Regions from separate parts of the Homo sapiens genome. Here all the other regions are linked to region 1. The links are contacts of gene promoters, found by promoter capture Hi-C in blood cells and fetal thymus (Javierre and others, 2016). All regions are on one chromosome and are shown on one strand. Each heading gives the region's core, a stretch centred on a gene start or on the middle of the fragment in contact. The rest is flanking DNA. Distances are from core to core; before and after follow the strand shown. Region 1 holds the start of PHAX (phosphorylated adaptor for RNA export). Region 2 overlaps CSNK1G3 (casein kinase 1 gamma 3). Region 3 has its middle 150 kb from the start of CSNK1G3.

Region 1 (2,992 bases), core at 128-2,627:
CACTGCCATAATTTTCTCACTGTTATAATTTTCGCAAAGGCGGGTTCCAAGATAACCCTTAAAGAATGGGGTGGGTTGAGGGAAGGGCCTCTCAGGCCGAGTGAACAGCAAATGCAGAGGCCTGGCCTGAGGAACAACAGGTTCAGCGCGCCAGCGGTTAGGCAGGGGGACACACTAGGACCAGTGACCAGATGCCCAGTCCACATGACCTTGTTTGCCATGTGGCAAAGTAAAACAGAGGTTCCTCTTCAAAAACTTTCCTCCCCGTCTAATTAGGAATAAATAGTAACTTCTCTTAAAAGCAAAATTTATTCAAAGATCTGTGCTAACATTCTTAAATATCTGCTAGCCATAATAAAAAAAAATGTACTTTATGTTCTTAGCTCCCACAATTTAGCCTAAATATTTGCCCTGGCATGCTTTTACTAGTCCAAGCAAGCATTAGGTCATAGCCTGTTCCTCTTCCTTATTTAAAAGTGTTTTCATCTTTCTCAGCATTCCACAAGTTACTTCCTCCTTCCTTTGTTCTCCTCTACCTTTGCCTCTTTTAAAAAGTTCTAAGTTGCTAGCCAATCGGGACAAATACAAAATGTGAGGTCCGGTCCAGCCAATAAAAACCAGCCACAGCAGTAAGGTAAACACGTCAGGTTATAAATGACCCTGTCTCCTTTTGTTCAGTGTACTCTCCTGGCAAAACTGCTGGCGAGTGTACCCTTTCTGCAGAAAGTAAAAATGGCCTTATTCAGTAAGTTAAATTTATGTTGCTATTTCTTTACGACACCGGAAAACAAACATTTCAAACACCATGCTGAGAACTCAGTCCTTGTTTTGGGGAGGGATGCACTTGGAAGATTCGAGCTAAGGTACAATCCTCCCTAGGTATCCGCGGGTCATTGTTTTCAGGACCCCCACAGATACCAACATCCGCCATGCTCAAGCCCCTTACATTATGTGGGGGTGCACGGTGGGTCCTTCCCATCCGCAGGTTCGGCATCCGTGGATGGGGAGTGGATACAGAGGGCGGACTATACAGCTTGAAAGGCTTCCCTGGAAGCAATATGTAGAGTGGATTGTGGAGGAGCAAGAACAGAAGCGGGGAGGCTTGTCCAGAGCATACAGGGGAAGGATGTACGGCCAAGGGAGGAATCCCAGACGACCGCGATACGTGACATATTTATGTTTGCACGAAAATAAAGTTTGGAAGAAAAGTGTTGGGGGAACAAGGGATTCATTTTCCCGGGGTAGTTGGAATGCAATGGGACGCCTCAGGCCGCTGGGACAGGCTGGCCTCCGCGCGGGGGCGCCCGAGCAGCCGAGCCGCCGGGCCTTCCGGCTGCCCCGCCGGAAGTGCTCTCCTGACCCGCCGCTGTGCAGCGCAGCGCACCGCGGGAAGATGGCGTTGGAGGTCGGCGATATGGAAGATGGGCAGCTTTCCGACTCGGATTCCGACATGACGGTCGCACCCAGCGACAGGCCGCTGCAATTGCCAGTGAGTGTGAAAGGAGGGTGGGTGATCGTGGCTGGGCGCGCGGAGCCTGGGCCCCGGGGAGCGCGCAGGCAGCGGTGAGGGTGAGGGGTGGGAGCTAGGAGCCCGGGCCAGAGCGAGGAGCCCAGGCTGTCGGGTCAGTGGCCGCAGAAGGGGCGAGCAGACGTCCCCCAGGCGGGCTCACGGAGCCCGGGCTGCGGGGGCCGAGGGGCGAGGGGCGACGGCGGCAGCGGCAGCGGCTGGCCGTGCGAACCCCGAACTGGCTGCTCCCTGCGAGGCGGGGCGCGCGAGCCCTGGCGCCTCCTGGAGGCCGGCTTGCGGCGGCCTCTTAGACGTCTCACCTCCGCCTACCGCTCTTTCTTTTCTAAACTTGGGGCTTCCCCACTCCATCGCCGCTAGGTAACCATAAAGGGGCAGATTTTGCCAAATATGTAGCATCTAGGGACATCAGCCTGAAACAGCCTGTGATGCTCATTTTCTCCCTGAGCCGAAGGGAGACTGAGGCCCAGGAATGAAGTTTATCGCTCACTCAAAGATCTGGTTTTCCATGTTTCCACCGAACCTAGCTTTGTCATGCGGTACCATGGCACTAGGCTTTTGCATTAGCCTCTCTGATTTTGTTTGTTGTTTTGAGGTGGTCTCACGCTGTTGCCCAGGCTGGAGTGCAGTGGCGCGATCTCGGCTCACTGCAACCTCCGCCTCCCGGGTTCAAGCGATTCTCCTGCCTCAGCCTCCCGAGTAGCTGGGATTACATGCGCCCGCTGCCACGCCCGGTTAATTTTTGTATTTTTGGTAGACGCGGGGTTTCACCATGTTGCCCAGGCTGGTCTCGAACTCCTGACCTCAAGTGATCGGCCTGCCTCGGCCTCCAAAAGTGCTGAGATTACAGGTGTGAACCACGGCGCCCGGCCACATCCAGCTAATTTTGTATTTTTAGTTGAGACGAGATTTCTCCATGTTGGTCAGGCTGGTCTCGAACTCCCAACCTCAGGTGATCCGCCCGCCTCGGCCTCCCAAAGTGTTGGGATTACAGGCGTGAGCCACCTCGCCCGGCCTAATTTTTGTATTTTTAGTAGAGACGGGGGTTCTCCATGTTGGCCAGGCTGGTCTTGAACTTCCGACCTCAAGTGATCCACCCGCCTCGGCCTCCCAAAGTGCTGGGACTACAGGCGCGAGCCACCGCGCCCGGCCCAGCTTCCCTGCTTTCTAAACGGGAATTTGTCTTGACTGCCTTGGTAGGTAGCAACCTCTTTGAGAGGGCGTTGGTGCCAGGCTGCCTGTGTTCAGATCCTGGGGCCACCGATGTGTGACCTACAGCAGGTTTATTTAGCCTCACTGCTTTTTGTCTACCTCTGTGGAATTGGCATGATGTACCACTGATAGGGTTATTGCAAGGATTCTGTGGAGCATACAGTGTGCAGTAATGCCTGGTAAGTGTTATCTCTGATTATTATTTGAAGATAGGAAGATAGATAGTCCCAACTTCCATTTCTAGCGTAGTAGGAG
Region 2 (2,992 bases), core at 312-2,811, 3.0 Mb before region 1:
GTTACTTATTCCTCCCATGCAGTCTCTTCGTTGTCTTTAAGTGTGTGCCTCCAGGCATGCTTATTTATTTTTATTGTCTCAAGGTAACATTTAAGATGTATATTAAAGTAAAGCTACATTTTTTTACTTCATTATTGCATTTACAGGGATTTAATTGTACTTTGTAATTTATTTTTCTTATTAGCCAAAAGTTTAATGCATTTTTTTTTGATGAATTAGGCACCCACATGAACACCACAAATCAGGACATTGTTTATCATTGTTGCTATGAATCCTATGAATGATCTTTTTTTTATTTTAAAGACCTACACTTAACCTACAAAACATTTGCTGTATAATTTGGTCAACAGTTTCTATCTATCTGTATACTGTCATGATGTCTTAAACTGCAGGAGTTACATACTGAGTTTATATTTTTATTTGCTTTGAGCAAGGTAGATAAACATTTTGGCCATTATAATGTGAAACCACTTCTTCTTTCTTTACAGTATTTGACCAAACTTGTGTGTCTATGATATTTGTAAATACATGCGAATATCTGTATTTCTTATCATAAGCCTATTTAGTTTTATTCTCAGTAGGGTTTTTTGGATTGTACAGTGTTTATATGATCTGAACTCCTTATACATAAGAAGGTGTGTATATTAATCCAATTATGGACTTAAAATATTTTAAAAGTATAAATACCCTTATTTGCTGCAAAGACCAGTGTGTAGGCATTTGCTTTTTAGCAATATTTTTAAGTGCTCCATTTTAATGCCGAGGAATAAGTCTTTTGGCAACACAAACTGGTCAATAATAGGTAATGCAGGTATGTTCAGGTTAAGCCAACAATGTTTTGCATTTTTATGCTTATTTTCTGTCAACACTAATGAAGTCAACATTGCCTGAATGTCTGAATAATGAAACACATCCCTGTTTAAAAGTATGTAACTGAAAAAGAAATAAAAAAAAATAAAAGTAGTTTTTTTAAACTTGCTCTTTCCCATTTCCTCTAAAGATGGGTAAAATAATGTCACTCCCTAATTTAAGATAGGAATTATAAAAATTTGGTTTATTTAGTCTGTTATATATGAGAAGCAGAGCTAAAGGAATATGCTTTTGTTATTTTATGTTTTGTTTTGCTTTCTTGAAATCCAGTGGTAAAAAGCACACACTAGGAAGGATCTAAGCTTTCTTTAATATAAAAAAAATTATACTTCTCTGAACTGTTTAATAGAGCAATAATTAAATACATCTTCTGATAAATTAAGGGAAATAGCATCATTTTTCCTTTTTGAGAATGGAATCATACTATTATGTTCACAGAAATTAAGCATTATTCCAGTTTTAAGTGAATGACTTTAAAATCATTGTAGATGGGGAGCCCATATTTCTAACAGTATCTCATAGTTCATCATTGTGCTAGGTGCTTTAAGGGATTTTACAAAATGGCATTAATGGTACGCTACTTACTGAGGGATGCTACAGGTAAGAAAAGGCAAAGCAGCCCTCTCTCACCCTGTGAATATTGTGTCCATTAAGCAGCAGAGACCTTCAGAAGCAGGAGAAAGATCTGGAGATGACACAAAACTGTTAAAGGCTCTATTTAGAAAAATTCGACTTTAAGATTGGGATTTCAGTCTGAATGAATGTATAGTTGCATTAGTCAGAACTCTTTGAATTGAAAGTGACAGAATTTAACCTGGCTTGAGCAATAAGAGTGTACATTATTTCATTTAACTGAAAAGTTCAGTGGTAGGACTGCCTTCAGACATGCTTAATCCTGGAGTTAAGACAGGAATCTTCTCCATATCTTTTGGTTTTGCTTTCCTACCCTGCTGTTTTCACTGTCAGGAAGACTTTCCATGTGTCATGGTAAAGTGGTCATCCAGCAGCTTGAGACTTCTACCCTACCATCTTAGTAGTCTCAGCAAAAACAAAGGGCCATTTTTCTCAATATTTCCAACAGAAGCTTAAGACTGACATTCCCTTATTGGTTGATGTGCCCACCCCTGAGCCAATTACTATGGACAAGGGAATATTGTTCTCCCAGTAGCTGAGCCTGAGTCATGGTTTGACCTTGAGGAGACACAATGGTGATGGAACTGGTTGAGAAGAGTTAAAAACTTTTTTTTCTACTAGAGTGCAAATAGAATTATAAAGATTTGCTGATATTCAGGATAACTAATTTCTTCTCTGCCCAATTCTAATACAGACCCACATAAATTATTTTCTTAGGACATTTACTTGTTCATAAGACTACATGGATCATAACCAAAGAAAGGACTATATATAGAAGAATGATCAGGTAATATTATTGGGATATAAAAATGGTTTTGTTAAACCAATTGTTTATTGGGATATTTATACTTTGATTTCACTTAAATGGTCAGACACTCTGGCACTTCTCCAGACTAGGGGTTGGAATCTTTTTTGGTAAAGTTTAGGCTTTGTGAGCCAAAAGGCAAAATTGAGGCTTTTATATATTTAATGAGAATGAAAAATTTTCACATATATTTTATTGATAAAATTCAAAATATATTAATACTTGAATTTTTTGTGTGATACAGGGCTACTAATGATAAGAATCGAGTGATTTTGAGGGGATATCTCACTAAATTGGGGTTCAAAATTAATTGCAAGCATTCATTTGTTAATGCTGGCCTGTAATGTGATTTTTTGTATTTCATCTTTGAAAACATCTTCTCACTCAAATAGATACATCCATGTACTGTTATCAGTTGTGATTGTGTAATTTTAATTGATCATATTCATCATTTGGAAGGTATTTATAGAATTCTATTAGATTCTGCTATTGCCATTTGCCTTTTAGCTGTCATTACATTGCATATTAATCACTTCCTGTTGAAGGTTAGGTGGATGCTCAATTGTATATTTAAGTGAATAATTAAATAGAAAAATTTCCTTTGCAGTTGCCTTAAGGTTCAGTAATGCAGCTTGAACTATAGTAGAACTTGGAAAATACGTTCACTGCAAGTTTGTGCGGGAA
Region 3 (2,992 bases), core at 249-2,748, 2.9 Mb before region 1:
AACAGGAAATATTTCTGTGGTAACTGTACTGCATTTTAGGCTGGTAGTTAAGCAGACTGTTCAGCATGAATAAATATAGTTTGAAATTGTTAGGGCAGATTTCTATGAAGAGTGGATGTTAAGCAGTAATATAAATGTAAGAGCTTACAGCAAAATGAAATTCATGCTATAAAGTTCAAACCTGCCTAAGAGAGACTTTTAGGTAAACTATTGGGTTGCAAAGCTGATTCCCATTTTGTTTTAATAGTTGGCAACGTATGGTGGCTGAGGTGATGTGTTTCAGTTGAGTAGATCATGGAGCATTATCCTGCGCTCAGTTGAGCAGAAATGTGTCTGATTTCAGCAGGACTATGAAAAATGGCTGAATTCTCTCTTCCTGAATCTGAAATTAATGACTAAAAATGTTATCAACAAGGTAGGTTGTCAAAAAAAAAGTGTAGGTACTTTATCTAGAAATGGTATATTGTTCCTTAGATAAACACTGAGAATTTTATGGGATAGTTTAGGAGAAGAAATTTATGTAACTTTCTATTTAGCTACAGTGTTAGCTAAAAACAACTTGATATAAGAATTAGAGATGATTATTCCCTTGTTTTTAATCTCCTCCTTGCTTCTCTGAATTTGAAGTATATCATCAAGTCTTGTTTGTAATTGAGAAGACTGGCTGGGGTCACAGAACTTGTAGGAGGGTCAGAAGATTCTTAATATCCTATCTGGATGGGTGTGTGAGCTATCAAAGGGGCCCTCATCCTTTGGGCATACTTACATAATTCCTACATTTTGTGTTAATTTTGTACTTAATTCATATCTTTATCAAAGATATATTGAACCCCAACTGTATACTAGCCACTTTTATAGAGAAGAGATAAATGAAGCATAGTTTTCTGGCTTCAAGGCTGTGTAGAGAGGGTGGGTGTGGTGAACAAGTGGATAAGTGTTATGACTCGGAGTGCTATGGGAATAGTGAGATTGTGAGGGAGCCCAGTCATACCACCCGACCTAATAACAGGGAGGAGAGGGGTTAGGGAAAAGCTTCTTGGAGGAGATGTGTTTTGAGGAAAGAAACTACTTAATCTCTGGACCTATTTCCTTTTCTGCAAAATATTGGGAAATTGCCACCTATCCTTCAGGGTTGTAGTGAGAATTATACCAGGTAGCATGTGTGAGAAAGCCTGGAACGTGTAGGCTCTCCATGTTTTCATTATGATCACTGTGGATGGCTTTATCATTTCTCTTTCTAGCCTGAAATGCATGAATTCCAAAATTTGAATGGGAAAATTAAACTAATATTAGACCAGTTTGACTCTTAGGCTACATAAAGAAGCACAATCTAAATTATCCACCACTCTGAATATGGAAAGAAAGAGATATGTATTAGTTTGTTGTTACTGCTGTTACAAGTTATCACAGAATTAGTGGCTTAAAATAACACATTTATTATCTCACATTTCTGGAGGTCAGAAGTCTGGAATCAGTGTTATTGGTCTTAAATCAGGGTGTGGTAAGTCTGGTTTGTTTTGGAGGCTTTGGAGAGAATCTGTTTCTTACTTTTTCTAGCTTCCAGAGACTGCCCATATTCCTTGGCTTATCACTCAATCACTCCAGTCTCTGCTTCCACAGTCGTCATATTAACTTCTCCTCCCTCTGGTGTCTTAACTTTCTTTTATAAGGATAATTGTGAATACATGAGCCCACCTGGATAATATAGGTCAATCCCATCTCAAGATCCTTAACTTAATCATACCTTCAAGGTCCCTTTTGTCAAATCAATTAATATTTATAGGTTCTGGGGATCAGAACATGAACACCTTTGGGGACATTATTTAGCCAACCACAAGATGTAAAGATCAGAGGAGAGTATCTCTGCGTGCAGTGCTACAGTATTCACTGCCTCTAATATGTTTGGGCTGTTGGAATGGCTCACAAAGAGAGATACCTATCAGAGCCCTTGGGCTACTGACATCTAAGCTTAGCAAGTCAATGGCAAGTCTTACTGGTTGGCCTTGAATTTAGAATTCTGTCCCATCCTCACATCAATTTCATCTGTTAATTGCTATTAGATAATATTTCTTAACTTCATTTAAATCTGTGTAACAGCCATGTTATGGGCAAAGTGTGAAGAGAATGACAGTAGACTAAAAACTCTGGGTAACAGTTGCATTTAATGCAGTGATGTTATTTGAGCACAATACATTTTTGCTGAGGGAGAGCTTGTGTTGACTATGATTGAGGCAGAGATGTATTTGTTTCATAACACTCAAGTGTAAGACACGTCATATTGCTTTATTTTTCTAAGTCAAATTAAATCTAAGCCTCTGTTCAAATAGGTTAGCAAGACAACCAATATCAGTCATGACTGGGAAGGCCCTCCCCCACCCTAGAGCTGAACAAATCCTTGAGAGTTTAATCAGGCCAGAAATCTGGACTAGGGGCTCTGGTTTTCTGTGAGCATAGTTGATCAGACCCTGCTCGTTGTTTCAGTCCAGTTGGAACATTTAAAAGTGGGTTGGTCAGTTGTTCAGAGCATCAGTTTTCCCTATAAACAACTAAGCCAGTGGAAATTCTTCTGTAGCAGCCAAGGCCATACCTCCTAGGATTCATTTTTATCTCAGTCAACCTCATCAGGACACCGTATTAGAGGGAGATTCTGGTCTCTTCTATATAAGAACCAGAACCATCCCCCACTAATTCCGAGATTTCCAGTTGTTTCCTAGCCCACCCGCAACCTCATCCCTTAGAACCAAATCCCATTTTCTCTTCAAGACCTTGCATTCTCTCACTTAAACTATGTGAGATGGTATGTGTGAGAAAGCCTGGCTCACAGAGGCACTCCAAGTTTTCATTGTGATCATTGCTGCTTTCCTCAGGATTTAAAAACAAAAGCTTCTCAACTGTCTTCTTAACAGTTCCTAACTGGGAGAGTGGCAGTCCTAAAATGTATGAATGCAAAGTCCAGCTGGCCTTTTTATTTTTATGTGATGAGCTATATGAA

Evidence for each region. Contacts are between HindIII fragments. The CHiCAGO score rates a contact against its expected background, and 5 or more counts as called.
Region 2: a fragment that was not itself captured here is called in contact with the fragment with the promoter of PHAX in region 1 in 1 of 17 cell types (total B cells); the score reaches 13.0 in total B cells.
Region 3: a fragment that was not itself captured here is called in contact with the fragment with the promoter of PHAX in region 1 in 2 of 17 cell types (total B cells and naive B cells); the score reaches 11.9 in total B cells.

The regions. Positions count from the first base shown.
Region 1 is chr5:126,599,570-126,602,561 of GRCh38, forward strand. It overlaps PHAX (phosphorylated adaptor for RNA export), which reads left to right and starts at 1,378. Exons shown (of 5, transcript NM_032177.4): 1 at 1,378-1,489. The coding sequence starts at 1,394. RefSeq lists enhancers at 460-1,309, 1,310-2,157, 2,158-2,992 and silencers at 1,216-1,425, 1,546-1,795. The HindIII fragment of the contact is 34,757 bases long and covers 1-2,992 here.
Region 2 is chr5:123,615,798-123,618,789 of GRCh38, forward strand. CSNK1G3 (casein kinase 1 gamma 3) reads left to right here. Exons shown (of 14, transcript NM_001364140.2): 14 at 1-1,252. Among named protein-coding and RNA genes, the nearest start is that of CSNK1G3, 110 kb to the left of the region's middle. The HindIII fragment of the contact is 782 bases long and covers 1,171-1,952 here.
Region 3 is chr5:123,659,710-123,662,701 of GRCh38, forward strand. No RefSeq gene overlaps it. Among named protein-coding and RNA genes, the nearest start is that of CSNK1G3, 150 kb to the left of the region's middle. The HindIII fragment of the contact is 936 bases long and covers 1,031-1,966 here.